Regions from separate parts of the Homo sapiens genome. Here region 2 is linked to region 1. The links are contacts of gene promoters, found by promoter capture Hi-C in human tissues and cell types (Jung and others, 2019). All regions are on one chromosome and are shown on one strand. Each heading gives the region's core, a stretch centred on a gene start or on the middle of the fragment in contact. The rest is flanking DNA. Distances are from core to core; before and after follow the strand shown.

Region 1 (4,145 bases), core at 882-3,381:
CAGTGGCACTGGTCCCGGCTACTCAGGAGACTAAGTAAGGTAGGAGAATTGCTTGAACCTGGGAGGCAGAGGTTGCAGTGAGCCAAGATCGCACCACTGCACTCCAGCCTGGGCGACAGAGCGAGACTCCAACTCCATCTCAAAAAATAAATAAATAAATAAACAAACCAGCCTGGCCAACATGGTGAAATCCGGTCTCCACTAAAAATACAAAAATTAGCCGGGCATGGTGGTGGACATCTATAATCCCAGCTACTCGCGAGGCTGAGGAAGCAGAATTGCTTGAACCCAGGGGTGGAGGTTGCAGTGAGCTGAGATCGCACCACTGCACTCCAGCCTGGGCCACAGAGCAAGACTCTCAAAAAAAAAAAGTGTAAGTTAGAATCCTCCTTCACCCCCAGATCACCGCTATGAATGGCGGGGTGCGTAGTGCTCTGAACTTTTCTATCAGGAAGGAATTCCTAAGGTGGCCAGTAGGCCCAGCTCAGAAAATGACCTTCAAGGGGAGCTCAGTATGAGTAGAGGGGAAACGAAAGACAGAATCTAACCAACCAGGCTGAGGCCAGGCCTTGGGGCGAATGGATCAAACCACATGTTCCAAGGGATGGCCAACCCCGAATGCCGGAGGCTCTGGTAGAATTTCTGCTACTCAGTGCTTTGGGCCCTCAGATCTGCCACTGACCTTGACATTCAAGTTACAGAATTGTAGAACTGAAAGGAGCCTGAAAGTCCATCTGGTCCTTTTGCCCATTTTAGAGATGGGGAAACTGAGGACCTACAACTAAGCTGACTCCAGGAAGGAATCTGGCCAACTAAGCACCTTCCAGAGCCTGCTGCATCCCTGCCTCCAACCACAGCCCTGGAGGCAGGTGCAGGAGTGCATCAAGCCCAGGCAATTAGAAAGATGAGACAGAGAGAGAGCCAGGAAGCGATCCAATAGCACTAGAAAGGCAGAGAAGGAGCAGCATGTCTCCACAGCTTGAAGCCCCAGGCTGGTGTTAGAAGCTTTGGCTTCAAAGTCTGGCTCTGCTGCTGCCCAGCCGTGTGACCCTAGATGGTCACTTACCCGCTGAGTCTCAGCTTCCTCACTTTTATTTTATTTTTTTAGAGACAAGGTCTTGTTCTGTCACCCGCGCTGGAATGCAGTGTGGCACGATCACGGCTCACTGCAGCCTCGAACTCCTGGGCTCAAGCGATCCTCCTACCTTGGCCTCAGGAGTAGCTGGGACTACAGGCATGCACCACTGCGCCTGGTCCTTTCTCATCTCACCTCAGAGCAGATAACCGCGTCTATTTCATGTTGTTGGAAGAATTAAGTGAGATAATGCAAGAAGAATTGAGCGCAATGCCTGACACACAGTAGGTGCCCAATAAATAACTAAAAAGAATAAGGTAACGGCCTGTAATCACACCTGTAATCCTAGCACTTTGGGAGGCTGAGGTAGGCAGATTGCCTAAGCTCAGGAGTTCAAGACCACCCTAGGCAACAGGGTGAAACCCTGTCTCTACTAAAATACAAAAAAAAAAAAAAAAAAAAAATGGTGGCACACATCTGTAGTCCCAGCTACTTGGGAGGCTGAGACAGGAGAATCGCTTGAACTCGGGAGGCGGAGGTTGTAGTGAGCTGAGACTCCAGCCTGGGTGACAGAGCAAGATCCTGTCTCAAAAAAATAAATAAAATACAAAAGATTAACCTGGCGTGGTGGCAGGCGCCTGTAGTCCCAGCTACACAGGGGGCTAAGGCACGAGAATCGTTTGAGCCCGGGAGGTGGAGGTTGCAGTGAGCTGAGACTGTGCCACTGCATTTCAGCCTGGGCAACAGAGCAAGACTCCATCTCCAAATAAATAAATAAATAGTATAAGGTAGGGAGAGAGAATGAACACACACGTCAAACAGAGTGGGGTGGGGGATGCCAAAAAGCACTGCAACTCAGAATTTTCTGTTTCAGGATATTTGGAAAATCCATACTTCTAAGAAAGCCCTGTCTCCTGCCCAAATTAAACAGTAACCACCCAAGGTCAGGGAAAGGGCCTTATCAGAGCAGGTTTCTCTCCAAGGGGCGGTTTGGCCTTGACCAGGTGCACTCACCTGCTCCTGCCTATAAGTGTGCCCCAGCCCATCCCGATGGTCAGCCAGTCCTGAGCACCTAACCATGTTGGGCATCACTGTCCTCGCTGCGCTCTTGGCCTGTGGTAAGCGGTGGGGTGGGGCTGCAGCTAGCAGGCTGTGAGCTCGGGCTGGCCTCCAGGGCAAGGACGGGATGGGGAGTGGGGGGGCCTCTGCTCTCCAGGTAAGACACTTTGGGGTCCCCTGTGGGTTCAGATGCTACCAACCAGCTGTGTGTCAGACAAGCCACAGCCTGCCTGCCAACTCTGTTTCCACATCTGCAAAACAGGGAAGATGATCTGACGTGTCCCCAGTTAGAAATGAGGTGTGGAAAGCACCACGCAAGGGGGAGGGACACGAGATGCCTCATCCTGGGTTCACCCCAGGGACCATCGGGGTCTGCCTTTCCCAGCATTCTCTCTCCCTTGAGGATTCTCCATTCCATCATTTTGGTGGCGTTTTCCCAGATTAGGAGCCCAGGGACTTAGCTTAAATGCCACTTCTTCTCTGCAGGACCTGGAAAAGTCATTTCACCTCTCTAAATCTCACTAACTTTTTTGGCAAAGGAGAGCACTTAATGAAGAGTCCTTCCAGCTAACAACAACAACAGTAATAATAGCAGCTCCTGTTTCCTGTGTGTTTACTATGTGCCAGACGCTATGCTAGGCCCCTTACATGTAGGAGCCAATTTAATCCTCAAAACAACCTTAAGAGGTAGGGTCTATTGCCAGGCATGGTGGCTCACGCCTGTAATCCCAGCACTTTGGGAGGCCGAGGTGGGTGGATCACTTGAGATCAGGAGTTTGAGACCAGTCTGGCCAACAAGATGAAACCCCGTTTCTACTAAAAATACAAAAATTAGCCAGGCGTGGTGGCGGGCACCTGTAATCCCAACTACTCAGAAGGCTGAGGCAGGAGAATTGCTTGAACCCAGGAGGAGGTTGCAGTGAGCCGAGATCGCGCCATCAAACTCCAGCCTGGGCAACAAGAGTGAAACTCCGTCTCAAAAAAAAAAAAAAAAGAAAAAGAAAGAAAAAGAGGTAGGGTCTTTTCATAGCCCCATTTTACAGATGAGGACATCGAGGTTCCGTGCGACTTAGTATCTTGCCTGACATCACATGGCAGGTTAGTGGAAGAGGCAGAATTTGAGTCCACGTCTGTCTCGCGGAACAGCACGTGTTCTTGACCGCTCCACACAGCTTCCCAGCTATAACAGTGGATTTACTGCTCTCTCACACACACACCATGATGCAGGGGCCTAAAAACAGACAGAAGAACACAGGTGTACCGGGCACTCGCACACATGCCAGCCAGTTTTGTTTTGTTTTGTTTTGTTTTTTGAGATGGAGTTTTGCTCTTATCACCCAGGATGGAGTGCAATGGCACGATCTCGGCTCACTGCAACCTCCATCTCCCAGGCTCAAGCGATTCTCCTGCCTCAGCCTCCTGAGTGGCTGGGATTACAGGCATGCACCACCACGCCTGGCTAATTTCTGTATTTTTAGTAGAGACAGGGTTTCGCCATGTTGGCCAGGCTGGTGTCAAACCCCTGATCTCAAGCGATCCACCCGCCTTGGCCACCCAAAGTGCTGGGATTACAGGTGTGAGCCACCGTGCCCGGCCAAACGCTTTCTTTTTTATGTGTTGTCTAATTCAGTTCTCAGGGCAAACTCACCGCATTAGTGTGATTCTTCACATTTCACAGAAAGGGAAAACAAGGCCTAGAGACCTGGGTGGCTTACCCCCGTGACACAGTAAAATATCAACCCCGTGTCTGCCCAGCCCCAACTCTGTGCTTCTTCCACCTGCCCACCCTCCCACCCCTTTCCCCGTGGGCTACCAGCCCTATTCACTGGTTCTTCTGGCCTCCTGTCTCCCCAGCCTCCAGCTGTGGGGTGCCCAGCTTCCCGCCCAACCTATCCGCCCGAGTGGTGGGAGGAGAGGATGCCCGGCCCCACAGCTGGCCCTGGCAGGTAAGCCTGTGTAGGGCTGGGAGGTACAGATAGAGAGGGTGGCGGGGTGAGGGTCCCAGGGACCT
Region 2 (4,145 bases), core at 631-3,130, 51 kb after region 1:
CCAAAGACGTTGGACACTCCTCAGGTACGTTAAGAGTGAGTTCCACAGGAATGATTTTATTTTTGTGTATTTGTGTGTGGCCCAGACTCTACCATCCAGTGCTATAAATGGGTATATGTCTGCAAAACCCAAAACCTGATACTTTGAGACCCCCATAGCATTAATTATTGGAAATTAGTCCCCCTCAAGGGTCCTCCAGCTATTCTGTAGGGTGACCAACCATCCCAGTTTGCCCAGGACTGAGAGGTTTTCCAGGATGCGGGACTTCCTGTTTTACACTGGGACCATCCCAGGCAAATAAAGCTGAGTTGGTCCCCGTCTTGTAAATGTAAACTCAGAGAGCTGTCTCCTGTGAGCTTCCACACTAGCTCAAATTCTTTTTAACAATGAACACACATTTTTTATAACAATAAGCATTAAAAATATTTATTAAAAATAATAGGCCAGGTGCCATGGCTCATGCCTGTAATCGCAGCACTTTGGGAGGCCAAGGAAGGAGGATTGCTTGAGCCCAGGAGTTCAAGAGCAGCCTGGGCAACATAGCGAGACTCTGTCTTTACAAAGATTTTTTTTTTTAATTAGCCATGGTGGTGCATGCCTGTAGTCTCAGCTGCTTGGGAGGCTGAGGTGGAAGGATCGCTTTGGCCCAAGAGGTGGAGCCTACAGTAAGCCAAGGTCGCACCACTGCACTGCAGCCTGAGCGACATAGCAAGACCCTGTCTCTGAAAATAATGATAATAATAGTTGGCATAAATATTAAGGAGCAGCCATGGATACACACAGAAGTAGATGAAAGCAGCCAGAAGAGGAAACCCCGTCACAAGAAAGGGGAGCCCAGGAGAGGGCAGAGGAGACACCATGCCTGGTAATAGAAGCTGGGGGAGAAGAGGCGGATACTTTGTGCCAATTAGGGACCACCTGTTTGCTCTTCTGTAAAGTGGGACTTGAACTAGACCTCCACATTTTTAGGCACTAGAGCAAGAGGGAGTTATGGTATTCGTGGCAGAGCCCCCAAAGAAGGGGAAAGCTGACATCTGACTTCACTAAGTTTAATTTGCAGAGAAGTGTTAAATTGAATTAAACTGACACTTATAAAACCAAATATGAAACTGCAGCCATAAGCACGTGGTCAGGGGAGAAAACTAAACTGTCAAAATAAGCAGGTGGCTGCTTCCAAGTGTTCCCATTGATTCTTGCCAGCTCCTTGTTCATTTGTCTGTCTGCTGGCATCCTTTTGCCAACAAGTGGTCATAGGCAGAAATTCCAAAAAAGTTTGTTGGAAAAAAATGGAAAATCAAAAAGACAGTAGCCATTAATCATTAATTGGGGCTTTTTATATCTAAATTGGGAAAAACCCATCTGAGTCCACCTTTGGAGGCACCACGCACGTCAAAGGAGCCTGGCCTGAGACTGACTGGACGAAAGGCTGCTTAGGGGCCTTTCCCAGCCAAATCCTAAGACCGTTTTCCAGCCCCAGCTGCTGTGGGAGTCACCGTGCAGCTGGTCCTGGCAGCATCCTGGGGACCTGAAGCAGGGGCAGGGGCAATTGTCCCGATCTGTTGTCCCAGCATCAGCTGTTCCCAGCATCAGCTGTTCCCAGCCACAGACACAAGCACAACAGAACAGGCCAGATCCCAAAGCATGGCCAGATGGCAGCAGGGATCCACGGGGCAGCACGCCTCCCGAGGCAGCTGGGCAGAGGCCCTGTGTTCATGGGAGAGCAGTCGGGACAGGCACAGATGCCCGGTAACGGGTTTCAGAAGGGGGAGAGCCAAGCAACCAGCTGTCCTTGGGTGGGGGCTGCCCCTGGCAGCGGCAGAGGGGCTAGTGAAACCTTGAAGTGGCCCCAACCCAGGGACACAGTGTGTGCAGCCTGGAGTCACGTACCACTAGAGCCCTGGGGGTGACTGAGAGCACCTGCCTGGATAAACCCAGACAGGTGACAAGCCAAGGTCAGGAAGTACAAGCAAAAGATAAGAGCAGAGAAGCAGAGGAGACAAGTGGCCTGCGGCATTCATCCTTTCAACAAATGTCAGTTGAATGACAGTCACACATGAACTCCAGCAATCCTTAGTTTTTATTCTTTTTCCAGAAGGTAATACATACTCTTTGTAAAAATATTAAAAGAATACAGGAGAGTATCAAGTAAAAAAGTAGAAGTCCCCCCTCATTTTACATCTCCAATTCCACTCTCCAGAGGTAATCATTGTTTTTGTTTTGTTTTTTTTCAAATGGAGTCTCGCTCTGTTGCACAGGCTGGAGTACAGTGGCTTGATCTCAGCTCACTGCAACCTGCGCCTCCCGGGTTCAAGCAATTCTCCTGCCTCAGCCTCCTAACTAGCTGGGATTACAGGCATGCACCACCATGCCCAACTAATTTTTGTATTTTTAGTAGAGATGGGGTTTCACCATGTTGGCCAGGCTGGTCTCAAACTCCTGACCTCAGGTGATCTGCCCACCTCAGCCTCCCAATGTGCTGGGATTACAAGCGTGAGCCACTTCGCCCTGCCAATCATTGTTAAAAGCTTGGTGTGTGGTCTTCTCAACTTTATGTGCATATCTATCTATCTATCTATCTATCTATCTATCTATCTATATACACACACACACACATAGACACTGTCTTCTAAGCAAAAACTAGGATCTGAGTCTTCATACTGTTCTGCAGCTATTTTTCACTTAACACCTTATCACATTTTACATGTCAGTACATACATGTCATTCTTTTGAACAGCTAAATAGTATTCCATAGTTTGAGTGTAATGAATGCAGCTTTCATGTTTCCTATTTTTCACTCTTACATTGTGCAATGAACATCCTTGGACATAATTCTTGCACACTTGAGTATTTGTGCTGTAGCAGCTGGATATCCTGCCGTTTACAGCACTGGATCATGAAGTTGGCATATCAAAATGTTTAACAGGCTGGGCGCGGTGGCTCACGCCTGTAATCCGAGCACTTTGGGAAGCCGAGACGGGTAGATCACTTGAGGTCAGCAGTTCGAGACCAGCCTGGCCAACATGGTGAAACCCTGTCTCTACTAAAAATGCAAAAAAATCAGCCAGGCATGGTGGTGCACACCTGTAATATCAGCTACTCGGGAGGCTAAGGCAGGAGAATCGCTTGAACCTGGGAGGCAGAGGTTGCAGTGAGCCTAGAATATGCCACTGTACTCGTCTGGGCAACAGAGCAAGACTGTCTCAAAAAAAAAAAAAAAAAGTTTAACAGATACTGATCAACAGCCTCTGGAAACAGTTATAGCCCCAACCACAGTGCATAACTGCCTTGCAAACAGCAGTTTTGATGAGAAACAAATGAAATCTAAAAATATGCCATCCGCACATTTGGCATATAATTTTTAGGGGGTTCGAAGGCCCCCTGACCTGAAGCCCACACAGGACTCCTGGCTAAGACCCCCTTTACAGGAAGACCCTAACAGGTCAATGAAAAGCTGTGATTGCATCTTTTTCTCCGAAACATCATCTGAACTCCTCAGGCAGGAGCTACTGTAGTGTGGGCTGCCTGTGACTCACTTGAGTAGCTTAGCCCAGGAGGACAGAGACAGGAAACTGCCACGCACAGCTCTGTGGTTACGTGAACCTGACAATTTTCTTGTGTGTGTGTCCTGCAGGTGATTGCAAATAACTAACCAAAAGAAGTCCCTGGGACTGTTTCAGACTTGGAAAGGTCACAGAAGGAAAATAATATTATATAAAGTGACAACTATGCAAATCACATCTTGATGAGGGTTTTATTATTATTATTAATTCAGAAATCCATCCTAACATCCAGGGCCCTAAGAACCAGAAATAGGTCAGGCGCAATGGCTCAAGCCTGTAACCCCTGCACTTTGGGAGGCTAAGGCAGGCTGATCGCTTGAGTCCAGGAGTTCAAGACCAGCCTGAGTAACATGGCATAACTCTGTCTCTACTAAAAATACAAAAATTAACTGGGAGAGGTGGTGCACACCTGTAGTCCAAGCTACTCAGGTGGCTGAGGTGGAAGGATCTCTTGAGCCCAGGAGGTCGAGACTGCAATAAGCCAAGATTGCGTCATTGCACTCCAGCCTGGGCGACAGAGTGAGACCCTATCTCCAAAAAAAAAGGCCCAAAAAACAAGAAATAGGCTGGCATAAGGACAGCTTA

The links. The method cuts DNA at HindIII sites, captures the fragments that hold promoters and counts their contacts. A contact is called where the count stands out against the background at its distance.
Region 2: a fragment that was not itself captured here is called in contact with the fragment with the promoter of CTRC in region 1 in 1 of the 25 tissues and cell types used here (ovary).

The regions. Positions count from the first base shown.
Region 1 is chr1:15,436,312-15,440,456 of GRCh38, forward strand. It overlaps CTRC (chymotrypsin C), which reads left to right and starts at 2,132. Exons shown (of 8, transcript NM_007272.3): 1 at 2,132-2,193; 2 at 3,989-4,080. The coding sequence starts at 2,154. The HindIII fragment of the contact is 5,601 bases long and covers 1-4,145 here.
Region 2 is chr1:15,487,664-15,491,808 of GRCh38, forward strand. CELA2B (chymotrypsin like elastase 2B) reads left to right here. Exons shown (of 8, transcript NM_015849.3): 8 at 3,632-3,732. The coding sequence ends at 3,649. It overlaps CASP9 (caspase 9), which reads right to left. Exons shown (of 9, transcript NM_001229.5): 9 at 3,738-4,145. Among named protein-coding and RNA genes, the nearest start is that of CELA2B, 14 kb to the left of the region's middle. The HindIII fragment of the contact is 4,003 bases long and covers 1-3,882 here.